Regions from separate parts of the Homo sapiens genome. Here region 2 is linked to region 1. Evidence: promoter capture Hi-C in 16 types of primary human blood cells and fetal thymus (Javierre and others, 2016). All regions are on one chromosome and are shown on one strand. Each heading gives the region's core, a stretch centred on a gene start or on the middle of the fragment in contact. The rest is flanking DNA. Distances are from core to core; before and after follow the strand shown.

What was found. Contacts are between HindIII fragments. The CHiCAGO score rates a contact against its expected background, and 5 or more counts as called.
Region 2: a fragment that was not itself captured here is called in contact with the fragment with the promoter of KDM3B in region 1 in 1 of 17 cell types (endothelial precursors); the score reaches 5.0 in endothelial precursors.

Annotation. Positions count from the first base shown.
Region 1 is chr5:138,349,360-138,355,945 of GRCh38, reverse strand. It overlaps KDM3B (lysine demethylase 3B), which reads right to left and starts at 3,261. Exons shown (of 24, transcript NM_016604.4): 1 at 2,959-3,261. The coding sequence starts at 3,150. It overlaps FAM53C (family with sequence similarity 53 member C), which reads right to left. Exons shown (of 5, transcript NM_016605.3): 5 at 6,217-6,586. RefSeq lists an enhancer at 2,322-2,421 and silencers at 2,672-3,141, 3,222-3,461, 3,482-3,561. The HindIII fragment of the contact is 3,421 bases long and covers 1,787-5,207 here.
Region 2 is chr5:138,420,741-138,427,326 of GRCh38, reverse strand. It overlaps KDM3B (lysine demethylase 3B), which reads right to left. Exons shown (of 24, transcript NM_016604.4): 15 at 6,365-6,586; 16 at 2,986-3,252; 17 at 1,745-1,916; 18 at 262-352; 19 at 8-138. Among named protein-coding and RNA genes, the nearest start is that of REEP2, 15 kb to the left of the region's middle. The HindIII fragment of the contact is 621 bases long and covers 3,282-3,902 here.

The DNA.
Region 1 (6,586 bases), core at 2,012-4,511:
CTTTGTATACGGTTGAATGTTTTCATGTTTTTTGTACTAGCATTAAGAAAGATGAGCAAAGAGATTGCTGGTTTTTCTTGTGTAAACCTTTGTTTGACATTTTGCAAATTACAAGCTTTGCTTTTATAACCAAAAAAAGGAAAATCCATGGGTTTCTTTTTTTGGTCTGTTTTATCTACAATACCCATATACGTGACGGTCCCAAGGTCTCTGCAACTTACATGAGCCAATAATGATTTAGGAACACAAAGAGGACACCAGATTAGGAAAGAAAAGCCAGAGATAAATGCATACAACCCATAAACTAATTCTAAAAAAATAAAAGGCCCATTTTAAAACACAAATAAAATTACTATTCCACTAGAAAGTGGGGGAAAAGCTGTTTTCATGCCTTGGCTAAACATCTGAGTAATTTGTCAGCATGGCTTCTGCTGGTGAAGATGTCCACCTATGAGAACCTTATCAACAAAACTCTCAATCAACAGGATCCTGACTCCTTTTTTTCACATCTCACCTTAAGGTAGCACTTGGCTTTGTTACTGTTTTCCAAAAAAGGTTTCATTTAATGGATCAGTACTGTATTTTATAGGATATCTGAATCAAAAAGTATTTAGAAAGAGATGTATTCGTGGAATCTAAAATTAAGAAGTGTGTTTTCAATCACTTCAGAAACTCATTCATCCAACCCTCAATTACTCATCCTTAAAAGGGGGCGCCCTGCTAGGCATTACTCAAAACCAAGCATGCCTGAAAACATCTTAAACATAACTGAATGAAAATCTGCCCAATCACAGGCCAGCTGCTTGCAAACTCCACCCTTGAGTACGGGAAGAACACTTTTGATTGGAAGACAGTTGTGTTTACTACCGTGTGTGGTGCAAATTGGAAAGGTCCACATGCCTACGGTCCAAAGGAAATCTCTCTTAATGAGAAAAAAAGAAAACGGCCCATTCTCATCCTACACTGGTCATTGTCATTAATAGAACCTCAACAAAATACCAATTCTTGAACAATTTTGCAAGCTGGTGAAAAAATCTAAAGGCTCTGAGTTTTGGTCTGGCTGTTTTCTCATCTATGTCCCTGGATATACATGTAAGACAAGCATAAATGTATTCTCAAAATACAAACCTGCCTTTGCTTCTACATTCACACAGCCCTATGCAAGACCTCAACACAGCTGTAATGTTCTTTGCTTTAATTTCCAAGAATCACTGCAACTTTTTACTTGGTTTGAGAACCCAGTTCCGTGGGATCAGTGGTAAAATTATTCAGTATTTAGCTTAGTGGGTGTCCAGCAAGGAAGTGAGCTCCAAAATCCTCTGCCCTTAGGGAGCACAGCAAACGACAAAGTGAATGGGGAGCCATTTCAGGTGCAGAGCTCATTAGCAATTCATCTGATGGAGGAAACGAGACGACCACTGCAAGAACCAGAAAAAAATCCCAATGAATAGCTAGGGCAAAGTAGGCCTTCGGTCAAAGTATGCATATAATAGTGGATCTTAAGTATGTTTTGCCTCCAAGGTGGTAGAATGAATCTGAAATGGACACTTCTTTTCCCATCCCAGCCATCTTTTAAAGAAAGCGCAGAGGAATAGAGATCCAAATCCCAGTCTTAATCATCATTCCATCCCCTTAAATTTTTAGTATCTTTTTGCAAATTTGCCCCACTGAGGCCTTATAAATGTCCTAGTAACGTTTCTTATACAGCATGAAGAAAAATCAAAGCAAATGAACCCAAGTAGCAGAAGCAAAGCCTAAGCCATCCACAAAAAAAATCCATAAAGCTTGTATATTAGTGAAAAAGGACAGTCTAACACCGTTGATCAATAGGAAGAAAAATGAACATCGGAAGCCTACAACATTACTTCCAAATCTCACAAACTGCGTTCCCGTTTATATCTGCAAAAGCAAGTTCATCAAGAAAATTTACTTTCTGCTTGCTGATCTATTACATTCCAAAAGACCACCCCCTGCCCCAACACGCACACACACCATTTTTCATAGCCTTATCTCACCAGAGAAGCTAGGGCCCCTATCAAAATGAGGAAATAAAGTGGCTTGCCAAAACTCAAACACTATATTTTACCGCCACATTAACGAGAATAACACATCATGATCCCGAATGCTAGTTAAGTTGTATGACTGAACAACTTTAATCACAAAACACACCAAGGCATTCAAAAAGGGCCAAGCCCAAACACAAAGTTTCAAAACAAAACCTCTCCCAAGGTTGGGGGAGTAGCTGAGCTGGGAGCAAAAAGCACTACCCAGCAGCCCCGTTCGGCCACTAAGAAAGATCTCAAACTTAACAAAAACAGCCACAACTGCAGCTCCTGTCACCCAGAAGCGTTAAGGAAAGGAGAGGAGAGCTCGAGACAGTGCCGAGAGCTGGCCTTTCTGGAGACCGCCAGGCCGAGCCCAGCTCAGATGAGGAAGTAACTGCCAGATAAAAAAGCCCCGACCAGCTCCAACTGCAGCCTCCGTGCCTCCCATAACTGCCCACATTCCCGCCCCACTTGGGGCTCTGGGAGAAAAGGAACAGGGCGCAGGTCTCCTGGGAGAGGCTGGGGACCACAGGTCCGCGTCTTCGAGAGGGCAGCGGCAACACTGGCCGAACTCTGAGGCTCCCGGGAGCTCAAGATTCGAGAGCCTGCTCCGAAGGCGTGTTGGGGGGAACGCCGAGAAAAGGGTCGCCCAGGAGGCGGGGCCTGCTGGCTGCAAGCAGCAGCTCCGGACGCCCTGGCCGCCCCCCGGGGGAAACCGGGGCGCACACCCCGACGCGGAAGCCATGCCGGCAAGCGCTCGGGGTGCGGAGGTGCCGGCGGGGGGCGCTAAGGAGACCCGGGGGCACGGAAATGGGTCACCCCCATCCCACCGCCCCCTCACAAAGGCCCCCGGGGAGGCCGCCCGCAGGCCCCGCAGCCCCGGCCTCGAGTGCCCGACTCGGCCGCCACTCACCGCTAGGTCCTGGGGCACCGCCCCGCTCATGGCCCGCACCGTGCCGGCCCGCCAGGCTCGAGTGCGCAGCGCAGGCCCCGGATCTCCGCTCGCCGCTGCCGCCGCGGGAGCCGAGGCCGAGGCTGAGGCCGCAGTGTCCGCGAACAGCAGCAGCAGCCGCTTGCCCACCGGGGAGGCCGCCGCGTCCGCCATCGCCGGGGCCGGCCTGACCCGCGCTCCCGCCCGCCGCCTCCCACCACCTCCGCCGCCAAGCGCCCGATCCGCCCGCAAGGCCTCCCTCCGCACCACCCGCGGCCGCCGTTCCCCCCCACCCCCCCCAACAGCCACCACCAACCACCGGCGCAGCGCAGCGCCCCCCGTGGCCGGGAGCGGAGCCGCAGCCTGGGCCCCGCACAGCGCCCCCCGCGCTCTGGAGCGGGGCGACAGCTCCTGGCCCCTCGCAGCGCTCCGCCCCAATCTCCCCGGGGCCTGCAGTGCCCCCTGCGGTCTGGAGGGGAATTGCAGGTCCGGCCGGGGTAGGGAAGTGGGCGGGTCCTTCAGCTTCCCCATGGCATCATCCCTGGTCTCAATCTTCCTTCAGGGAGTCGTATATATGAGAGGGCTTTAGCTTGCTCTCCTCGGATACCAAAGACATTTACGGGGTAAGGGGGTGAGGGGCAAGGTACCTAGAGAGTGGATGTTTTGAGCTATTTAGTGTCTCCAATACCCCCATTGATTTCCTATCCTGAAAATATGAGCTCCTACCTGCTGTCTTGTAGGAAATGTTCTCCCCATTGGTCCATGAGACACAATGTCTTCCTTCTCAATGGCCCATAACAGCACCATCCCATTCTATACTGCCAGCACTTCTTAGGTTCCTTTCCAATTGGCCAATGTATTACTTCCATTGGATGTATAATGCCACTCTTTCCACTGACTGAAGGCCAACGTGCCCCCCAACATCTTGGTGTTTTTCCTAAAACCGACCTAACTTCTTCCCCTTCCTAGTCTGCCAATGTTATTAAGTCTACGTGTTTCTCCATTCAACTCTTAGGGGAACTGGAAATAGACCAACAGTAAAGGGGTTCTCTTAGTAGCACTCCATCTTACCATGGAATTAGTGGGGCTGGGGGCAAAGAAAATTCTGTAACTCTTATCTGAATGCATTTAATACAGGTGTGGGAGACTGATAGCTCCTGATTAGAAAAGGAGCCTGCAGAGAAAGTGAGATGCTGAGATTTTTGGCTAGATTGTTACCCACAATAAGCAACAGGAAATTGCCTCAATCATTTAAAGCTGGCAATATCAGGGACTAGCACATTCCATGGTCTCATGGATGCAGAGACTGAGTATACACAAAATGGATACAAAAGATAAAGGGTATAGTAATAACCCATGACTGTTGTTCTAAAAGTGACTTTTTGATTTTCCCTACAGACAGGAAATAGTGGTAGCTGGTTCTTTCTCCAAGGCTTCTGTGCCTACCCCAGCTATCTCCTGTCCATAACCTTGTCTACACCCTTGACCTACTTTTCTTGTAACAAAGGCTTGGGGAGAGGGGTAACCAACTATTGACTTTATACTTTTACTAAAGTATAAAACATATAGGAAAATCATTCTAGAACCAACCCTGTGGAGCACCAAGGAAACATTCCTCCCTCCACTTCTTTTTAACTTCCATCTCCCACAGCCAACCTGAGGCCTGACTCAGAATGTTTTTCTGGGCTGAGAGCCACCTCTTAAAGCACATGGCCCATAAGCTGTAGTTGGTAGGAGGGGAACAAGGGTGAATCCATACAAGATCTATCTGCCTTGCAATTTTTCTATCAAAATTATCTGCTGGGATTTTCTCCCATACAGAGATTTAACTACTGCCCCAATGTCCAAGGCTAGTTTCTCACAGCAGAGAGACAGAAATGTACCTAAGTTCACGGATGGGAAAGGCAAAAGGGAAATGCATTCAACAAATGTGACCAGCACTTTTCATGTGCCAGGAACTTCCCAAAGTGTTGGGGACACAATATTGAATAAAACAAAACTCTTGCCCTCATGGAGTTTACGTTCTTTCCTATATTAACAAGACTTCAGGAATGAAAAATAAAATCACACTTGGCCTCACAGAAAATAGCAGAAAAATCCAACAAAAATAAACTCAAAAGAAAAAAAGGGGGAAACAAAGTCATTTTAGATGTTCAAACTTTACCCCTGCTCAAGCAGTAGGTGAAATGAAACATCAGTTTTAAAGAAAAAAAACCCTGTAATTCTAAGCTTCTTTAACCACATGCCACTGCCCACCACTTCCCCAAAGCCCTTCCTTTGTTTCCAGGGCAGGTGACAACCCTCACTTTTTCTAGGGTGTATGTGCACCCCTGCAAAGATTCCTGCTCCAGGTAGTCAAGTCAGTCCTGTCCTGCACACACTTCATTGGTATTCAATGATGAGTGCCACCAATTTGAAGCAGGAAACCAGGACATAAGCTAAGCAACTTGACTCTTCTTGCTGCCTGGCAAATTAGCACCACAACTGGTAAAGAAAGGCTAAGCCTTAGAGACAGAGGCTCCTGCCTGGATCTCTAAGCAACTACACTTCACCCACACACATTGGAAGAATGTCAACATAGAGAGAAGAAAGGGTGGAACAGAAAGGTCTAAAGAGTGAGCCACATAGCTTCTTTTGGCAAACCAACACTCCCAAAGGAAACATTAGGGAAAATACTGTCTTCTACAACAAAAGAGAAGCTTTGCAGCTAGGATTATTTTCCAAAAGCAGTATTTTTAGGATGGAAAAATTGCCTAGGTCTATGGAATCTGAATTCTGATGACTAAACCTCTATCTCTCCAGGATGTAACATGTGAAAACTTAAGAAAGATCCCTGGCTGTCTCCCACCCTGCCTTCTCCCTACTTCCCAAAGCCTACAAACCAATCTAGACAAGTTCCTGACTGTACCATAAACCATTTCTCAGGGAGCTGGAATGCATTCATACTTGACTTCAACTTGCTGGAAGTGAGAGTGACAGCAGGCAGGAGGAGACAAGTATAACTGCCAGGGAAAGAGAGACCAAACCAGACTGCCAAAAATAACCAAGGCCTTAGCAGAAGCCTGGGCCACAGTATAACATCCTGCCATGGCCGGCAAAGGGCCTAGGGTCCAAATACTGCCCCTTTTTGAAAGGTTGACCCACATCTTAGATGAAGGGGCTGGAACAGTTAGGTGGCCTTCTACCCTGCTTCTTCCTTGTCTTTGTGGGGAAGGGAAGAAGACACTGTAGTACACAAGGTTGCTTGGGAAAATGGATTATTCTAATAAAACTTTATTTTTTCAAACACAGCCACAGAGGCAGAACCTCATGTTTAACACACACAGACTTATGGATTTTTCTTTTAATATAAAACAAAGTTTACGAAAATTTTTTTCCACTTTTTGTATTTGTAATCCCATTAGCACAGGGACTTTGGCAGCAGGTGGGAGTGAAGGGCAGCTGAGCTGCCACTGGGCAGTCACTGGGCACAGGAGGAGAGCACCAGCCTGGGGAGTGGCTTCACTCACACACACAGGGATACTCACCTACTGGCCAACCACACTACACACACAGCACAGATGCAGACATTGACCCAGTGTCAGCCACATGCCCTGGAGGTGTGCTCCAC
Region 2 (6,586 bases), core at 2,343-4,842, 71 kb before region 1:
CTCATACCATAGGCGTTGTACATCTTGGGGCCCAGATCAGGCCTTACAAAGTAGCTAGGTAGCCTAGAGGCCAGATTGAGCCTGCCATCTCGTTTGGTATATTCTGGCAGAGGAAGGTTCTCCATCAGATCTTCAAACCTATAAAAGTGCAGGAAAGATGACTTAGCTTGTTATAGGGGAAGAAAGCCAATAGACAAATTTCACTTTTCTGTGATTACTTTGTGATGGCTTCTGAAGATGACACCACTGCAGGTCACTAACCTGGTTGGCATCATGTCTCGAAAATCTTCCCCAGGAGGCCAGTCCTTGAGTTTGAGCACCATTGGCTGCCCATCTTCTGACCGTAGTCGTTCTGGAAGACAGAGAATACTCCCACAAACATCTGCTGGTTTGGCTGGTGTCCGATTTTCAACAGTAACTTTTGGGAGACTAATCTCTTTTTTTTCTTTTTTTTTTTTTTTTTTGAGACAGAGTCTTGCTCTGTCACCCGGGCTGCAGTGCAGTGGCATGATCTTGGCCTCCCGGGTTCAAGCGATTCTCCCTGAGTAGCTGGGATTACAGGCAACCACCACCACGCCTGGCTAATTTTTGTATTTTTAGTAGAGACGGGGTTTTGCCATGTTGGCCAGGCTGGTCTCAAACTCCTGACCTCAGATGATCTGCCTGCCTTGGCCTCCCAAAGTGCTGGGATTACAGGCGTAAGGCACTGCGCCCAGCCTAGGAGACTAATCTTTTTTTTTTTTTTTTTTTTTGAGATGGAGTCTCGCTCTGTTGCCCAGGCTGGAGTGCAGTGGCCCAATCTTGGCTCACTGCAAGCTCCGCCTCCCAGGTTCATGCCATTCTCCTGGCTCAGCCTGCCGAGTAGCTGGGACTATAGGTGTCTGCCACCATGCCCGGCTAATTTTTTTGTATTTTTAGTAGAGACAGGGTTTCACCATGTTAGCCAGGATGGTCTCGATCTCCTTACCTTGTGATCCACCCGCCTCGGCCTCCCAAAGTGCTGGGATTACAGGTGTGAGCCACCGTGCCTGGCCCTGGGAGATTAACCTTTTATTTCAGACTTGTAAACCCCCATAATGGACAAGGTGGGCTTTGTTTTCCTCACTTGCTACTTTAGTGTGTGTCTTATTTTTCCATCTTACGGGGATTCTATCCCCATTCCTCAGAGTGAAAGTGCTCTGCATAGCCCATGGAATCACATGATTAAGTCCAGGCATGCTCTGGGAGTCATGTGATTGCCATGTAAGCTACACAGTTGGCACCAGGGCAGAATGTTCCCCCACCAAGTGGGTATAATTTGGATTTATTTATTTATTTATTTTTGAGACAGTCTCACTCCATCACCGAGGCTGGAGAGCAGTGGTGCCATCTTGGCTCACTGCAACCTCTGCCTCCTGGGTTCAAGTGACTGTCCTGCCTCAGCCTCCTGAGTAGCTGGGATTATAGGCACACACCACCATACCCAGCTAATTTTTGTATTTTTAGTAGAGGTGGGGTTTCGCTAAGTTGGCCAGGCTGGTCTTGAACTCCTGACCCCAAGTGATCCACACATCAGCCTCCAAAAAGACTGAAATTACAGGAGCGAGCAACCACGCCCGGCTGTCTGTTTTTAATTTTTTATTCATTTATTTTTTCAAGTCCCATTATGCCCCAGAATATAATTTATTATTCAAGGGCAGAGCTGGGCGTATAGATGCTTATTTTCCAGTCTGCTATCACTGAACTAGATATGAAAGCTACTTACTGCATATGATCTCGAAACCATCCCAGAAATCCCGAACTTTCACATCGGAAATTATAGCACAGTTCCTGCAGTTCACCAAGTCTACATCCTGGTCTCCAAATTCCTGGCTAAAGGCTTCTGGCTTCCAGAGCTCAGACTTGAGCTTTTTATGTACCCCCGAAACCAGCACTGGCTGTGGAAACAAAAATATCCCAATCAGAGCAATCTAGGAAAAACTTCCAGCTCTAGGGCTGAGACAGAATAGGAGGGTTTCCTGAGGAGGGCCTCCTCTTCTCCAGGAAGCTCTACTGTTCTTTCCTAGTTGTATAATCCATGGATTTCCACATGTCAACTAAAGTGAAAGGAAATGCTTCTACTCCATTGTTATGCTTCATTCTCACCCTGGGGAAATCACTTCTGTTGCCCTAATACCTACCATTGTTTTAAGGTGAAAGGACAAAAATCTGACAAGTCCAACTTTGAGAACACTTCCTCATATTGAAAATGACAATGCCATGAGCTCCCCTTCCTCAAGCACCTGCTAAAGTTTTTAAACTAGGGAGTGTTATCACACTATCAAAAAACTTGTGTGGCCTTAAAACATTTGCCTAGAAAAGTACTACCTACCTCCAACCCCTTCTCTGCCCCATCTTAAAATCACACTTAAGGATTTTTCTCTAAAGATATCAATGCCAGATCACCACCTAACAGAAATTTCAACTGCCTTTTTAAGAACACAGAACTATACAGCTTAGAAACAAGAGGATGCAAAGTGTGTTTTTAGTAATCTCCTTGCTTTTATTTATTTATTATTTATTTATTTTTGAGGTGGAATCTTGCTCTGTAGCCCAGGCTGGAATGTAGTGGTATGATCTTGGCTCACCGCACCCTCTGCTTCCCGGGTAAAGTGATTCTCCTGCCTCACCCTCTCAAGCAGCTGGGATTACAGGCACCCACCACCATGCCCAGCTAATTTTTTTTGTATTTTTAGTAGAGACAGGATTTCACCATGTTGGCCAAACTCCTGACCTCAGATGATGCGCCTGCCTTGGCCTCCCAAAGTGCTGAGATTACAGGCGTGAGCTATAGTGCCTGGCCATCTCCTTGCTTTTAAAAATCCAAGACAACTCGAAGTAGCAAGGCTATTACAATAACCTCACTATGTCTAAATCTCCCTGGCAAAAAGAGAGACCTGGAATTGTCCAGGTATCTGTGGTAGGCAGGCAGAGAATTGGCCCTTGGAACGACTTATTCTTGCTTACCTGACCTTGCTTCCAACACTCCCGGAAGATCTTCCAATTGTTTTTGTTGCTGGGGTCATGGAGACACAGAAGCCTCCCATCACAAAGCCAGGAGTGAGAAGTATGGGGATCTAGCACATTTAACCCCATCACCATCTCCTTCACTTCCTTCTGGGTATCAGTCAAGTTGCAGGCCCGCTTTGAAGCATCTGAGGTTTTCTTATTTTCTACCACTGAGGCAATGATGTGGTCAAGAAAGTTGGGTAGGCTGGCCTTGCTCTTCACTCCCTGCCAGACACAAATCCACCAGGTAAGCTTGACTGAGGCACCATGAGAACGGCATTCAAAAAACTGTCTCACAATTGTATTCACAAGGAGTTCTGACCTGTCTGATTAAATTCTACAAAAATTATTAAAATGTCTTTTACAACTGGAAGGGGGATAATAAGTCAACATCTTAAATTCTTTTATCCTTCATATTTTACCTTAACATTTAGGAAAGAAAAGTATAGAAAGATCCCTTTTGCCTCGAGAGATCTGAGACCTAAGAAATACCTTTGGCATCAGCCATTCAGTATACAAAGCACACATGCATGTAGACTGTAGGGATCATCAAATGCTGTAACTGAGTGTAAAAAGGTCACTCAGTTTGAGGGTTCTAAATTTTTCCTAACCAGCATGCCCAAGGGATACAATACTTCAATTAAGTAACTGAAGTGACTTATCAAGGCAATGGTTTTCTACCAGGGAGTACCTCAATGAAGGGTGTAGCAGAGTGTCCAAGAGGAAGTACATTCTGAAAGCAGTCTCCTACTCTCCAATTTTTTCCTCACTACCATCCCACTGAGAATCACTCACCTGTTTCAGCTGATGGGAAAGCTCAGGCCCAGAGATGAAAGTGACATACCTAAGGTCACAGAACTGAAGGTAGGGAAGCTTTTATAAACTGGATAATCCTATGCTTACAGTATTACTAATCCCTATCTCTATAAAGTATGTATAATTATGTAACATCATGGGAGAATTAGAAAAAGAACTGGCAGTATGATGAACAAGTATACATAAAACGGTACCCAAAGTAATTGTTTTGTTTGCTTTTTAAAATTTACTTATCCAGGCTGGGCACGGTGGCTCATGCCTGTTAATCCCAGCACTTTGGGAGGCCAAGGCAGGTGGATTACCTGAGGTCAGGAGTTCGAGACCAGCCTGGCCAACATGGTGGCCAACCCTGTCTCTACTAAAAATACAAAAATTATCCCAGTGTGGTGGCACGTGCCTGTAGTCCCAGCTACTTGCTCGGGAGGCTAAGGCAGGAGATTTGCTTGAACCTGGGAAGTGGAGGCTGCAGTGAGCTGAGATCGTGCCACTGCACTCCAGCTTGGGCAACAGAGTGAGACTGTCTCAAAAAAAAAAGTTACTTATCCAAAAGAGAAACAAATAACCCAAATTGTATAGAGGGCTCAGTCACCCACAGTTCATCACGTTTCAGCCATTAGTCATAAAACCCAAGAAGAAATGTATTTATGTATTCGCTTGAAATGATTTGCAGGACATATAAACTAAAAATCAGAATAGCAAGGTGTAGAACATTTAGGGGAAAAACATACATATGATAATATCTCGAGAAACACTGGAGACTTCTAGAAAGGGAAACAGGTGGTTGGGAGGCAAGGGTGCAAAGGAAACTTTTCAGTCGAAACCTTTTTTATTTTATTTATTTTTTTGAGATGGATCTCCCTCTGTCACCCAGGCTGGAGTGCGGTGGTGCGATCTTGGCTCACTGCAACTTCTGCCTCCCAGGTTCAGGCGATTCTCCTGCCTCAACCTCCCGAGTAGCTGGGATTATAAGCATGTGCCATCATGCCTGGCTAATTTTTGTAGTTTTTTAGAAAGAGTCAGGATTTTGCTACGTTGGTCAGGTTAGTCTCGAACTCCTGACCTCAAGTGATCTGTCCGCCTCAGCCTCCCAAAGTGCTGGGATTACAGGTGTGAGCCACTGTGCCCAGCCTCTTTTCTATCTTTTAGATATTGTACCTTATGAATTCATTCATTCAATAAATGCTTACTAAACATGACTGGATCAAACACCATGGCACTAGGGATATATTATAGAACAGTCAAAAATGCCTTTAGGAGAGGCAAGAAACAGAAAATCAAACATGTAATAGGTCAGATGGTAATGAGTGCTGTGAAAAAAACAAAGCAGGGAAAATCGGTATGTGCAGAACTGACAGTGTGATGGAATTTTAAAAAGGGTGATGTATGAAGAAAGGGTTACTGAAGGTTTAGGTGAGGGAGCTGATGATGAAGCAAGTGAGGTAGTTACATGGGAAAGAAATTCTAGGTGGAGGAAATAACAAGTGCAAAGGCCCTGAAGAGGGAGCATGCCAGGCCATGTTCAAAGAACAGCAAGAAGGTGGGTGTGGCTGGAACGGAGTGAACAGAACAGAGAGTGGTAGTTGAAGACAGGGAGGTGAGAGCAAGATGAACAGATAGGGCTATGGCCTCATAGTCCAGGTGCGTGACTCTACTCATCTGTAAGCACTACAAGGACTCTGCTCATCTTACGAGAGAAAAAGGAAGCCCTTGAAGGATTTCAGGCAGAGGTTAAGATATGATCTGACTTATATTTTATTATTTTTCTCCTTTTCTTTTATTTTTCTTTATTTCTTAATAAAAAGCCTCCCATGGGATGACATATTTTAAAAGAACCTCTCTAGCTACTGTGTTGAAAATACACTGTAGACTGTAAAGGGCAGAAACAAGGGGACCTGTAAGGAATTTATTGCAAAAACTTAGGCAAGATGTTGGCTCAGAACAGAGGAAGCAACAGAGCTGATGAAAAATGAGTGGATTCTGAATATAGTTTGAAGATCAAATTTGAAAGGATTTGCTAACAAATTAGATATGAAAGGTAAGACAGGCGAGTCCCAAATGATTCTAAGATTTCTGGTGCAAGCAATCACAAGGGCAGAGATGCCACCAACCAGTAGGGGAAAACTAAGGAGAAGCAAGCTTATGGTCAGAAGATCAGGAGTTCAGGCTTAGGCGCATTAAAGGTTTGAGACATCTATTAGATATCCAAGAGAATACAATACAAATGTACTGTCCAGGTTAAAAAAAAATTAATGCCTGCTATTATCAAGAAAAACAAGCAATCAATGTATTAACTTTTCTGCTGATGACCGAAACATTTCAAAATCTCAACTTTTACAGACTTCCTAACATGGTACAAAAGGTTCACTACTTAAAAAGATTCCCAAAACTTTAAAGAGAGACCTTGTCAGCTTGACAATGTAGAGAACACAAATCACCCATGTACCCTCTAACCCAATTATCTGATCTCTGATGGTTCTTTCATGGAAAAGCTGAAAAGGCTACAGTTGCAGAGGACACTTACTGCTGAGGATGTAGAGAAGACCGGGGGAAAGGGTATGCCTGTGTCCAAGGGGGTTTGAGGAAGTTTTCCCGGCCCGGAGTGAAGGAGGTCTCGAAGGCTAGACCCTTCGGTTTTGTTGTTGGAGGCAGTGGGACCCAGCAACAGACTGTTAAAAAGCTTTGGAGTCAGCGGAGAGACCTTTGCAGTGGAGTTGAACGAGTCCAGCCCAAAGGGTGAATGAGA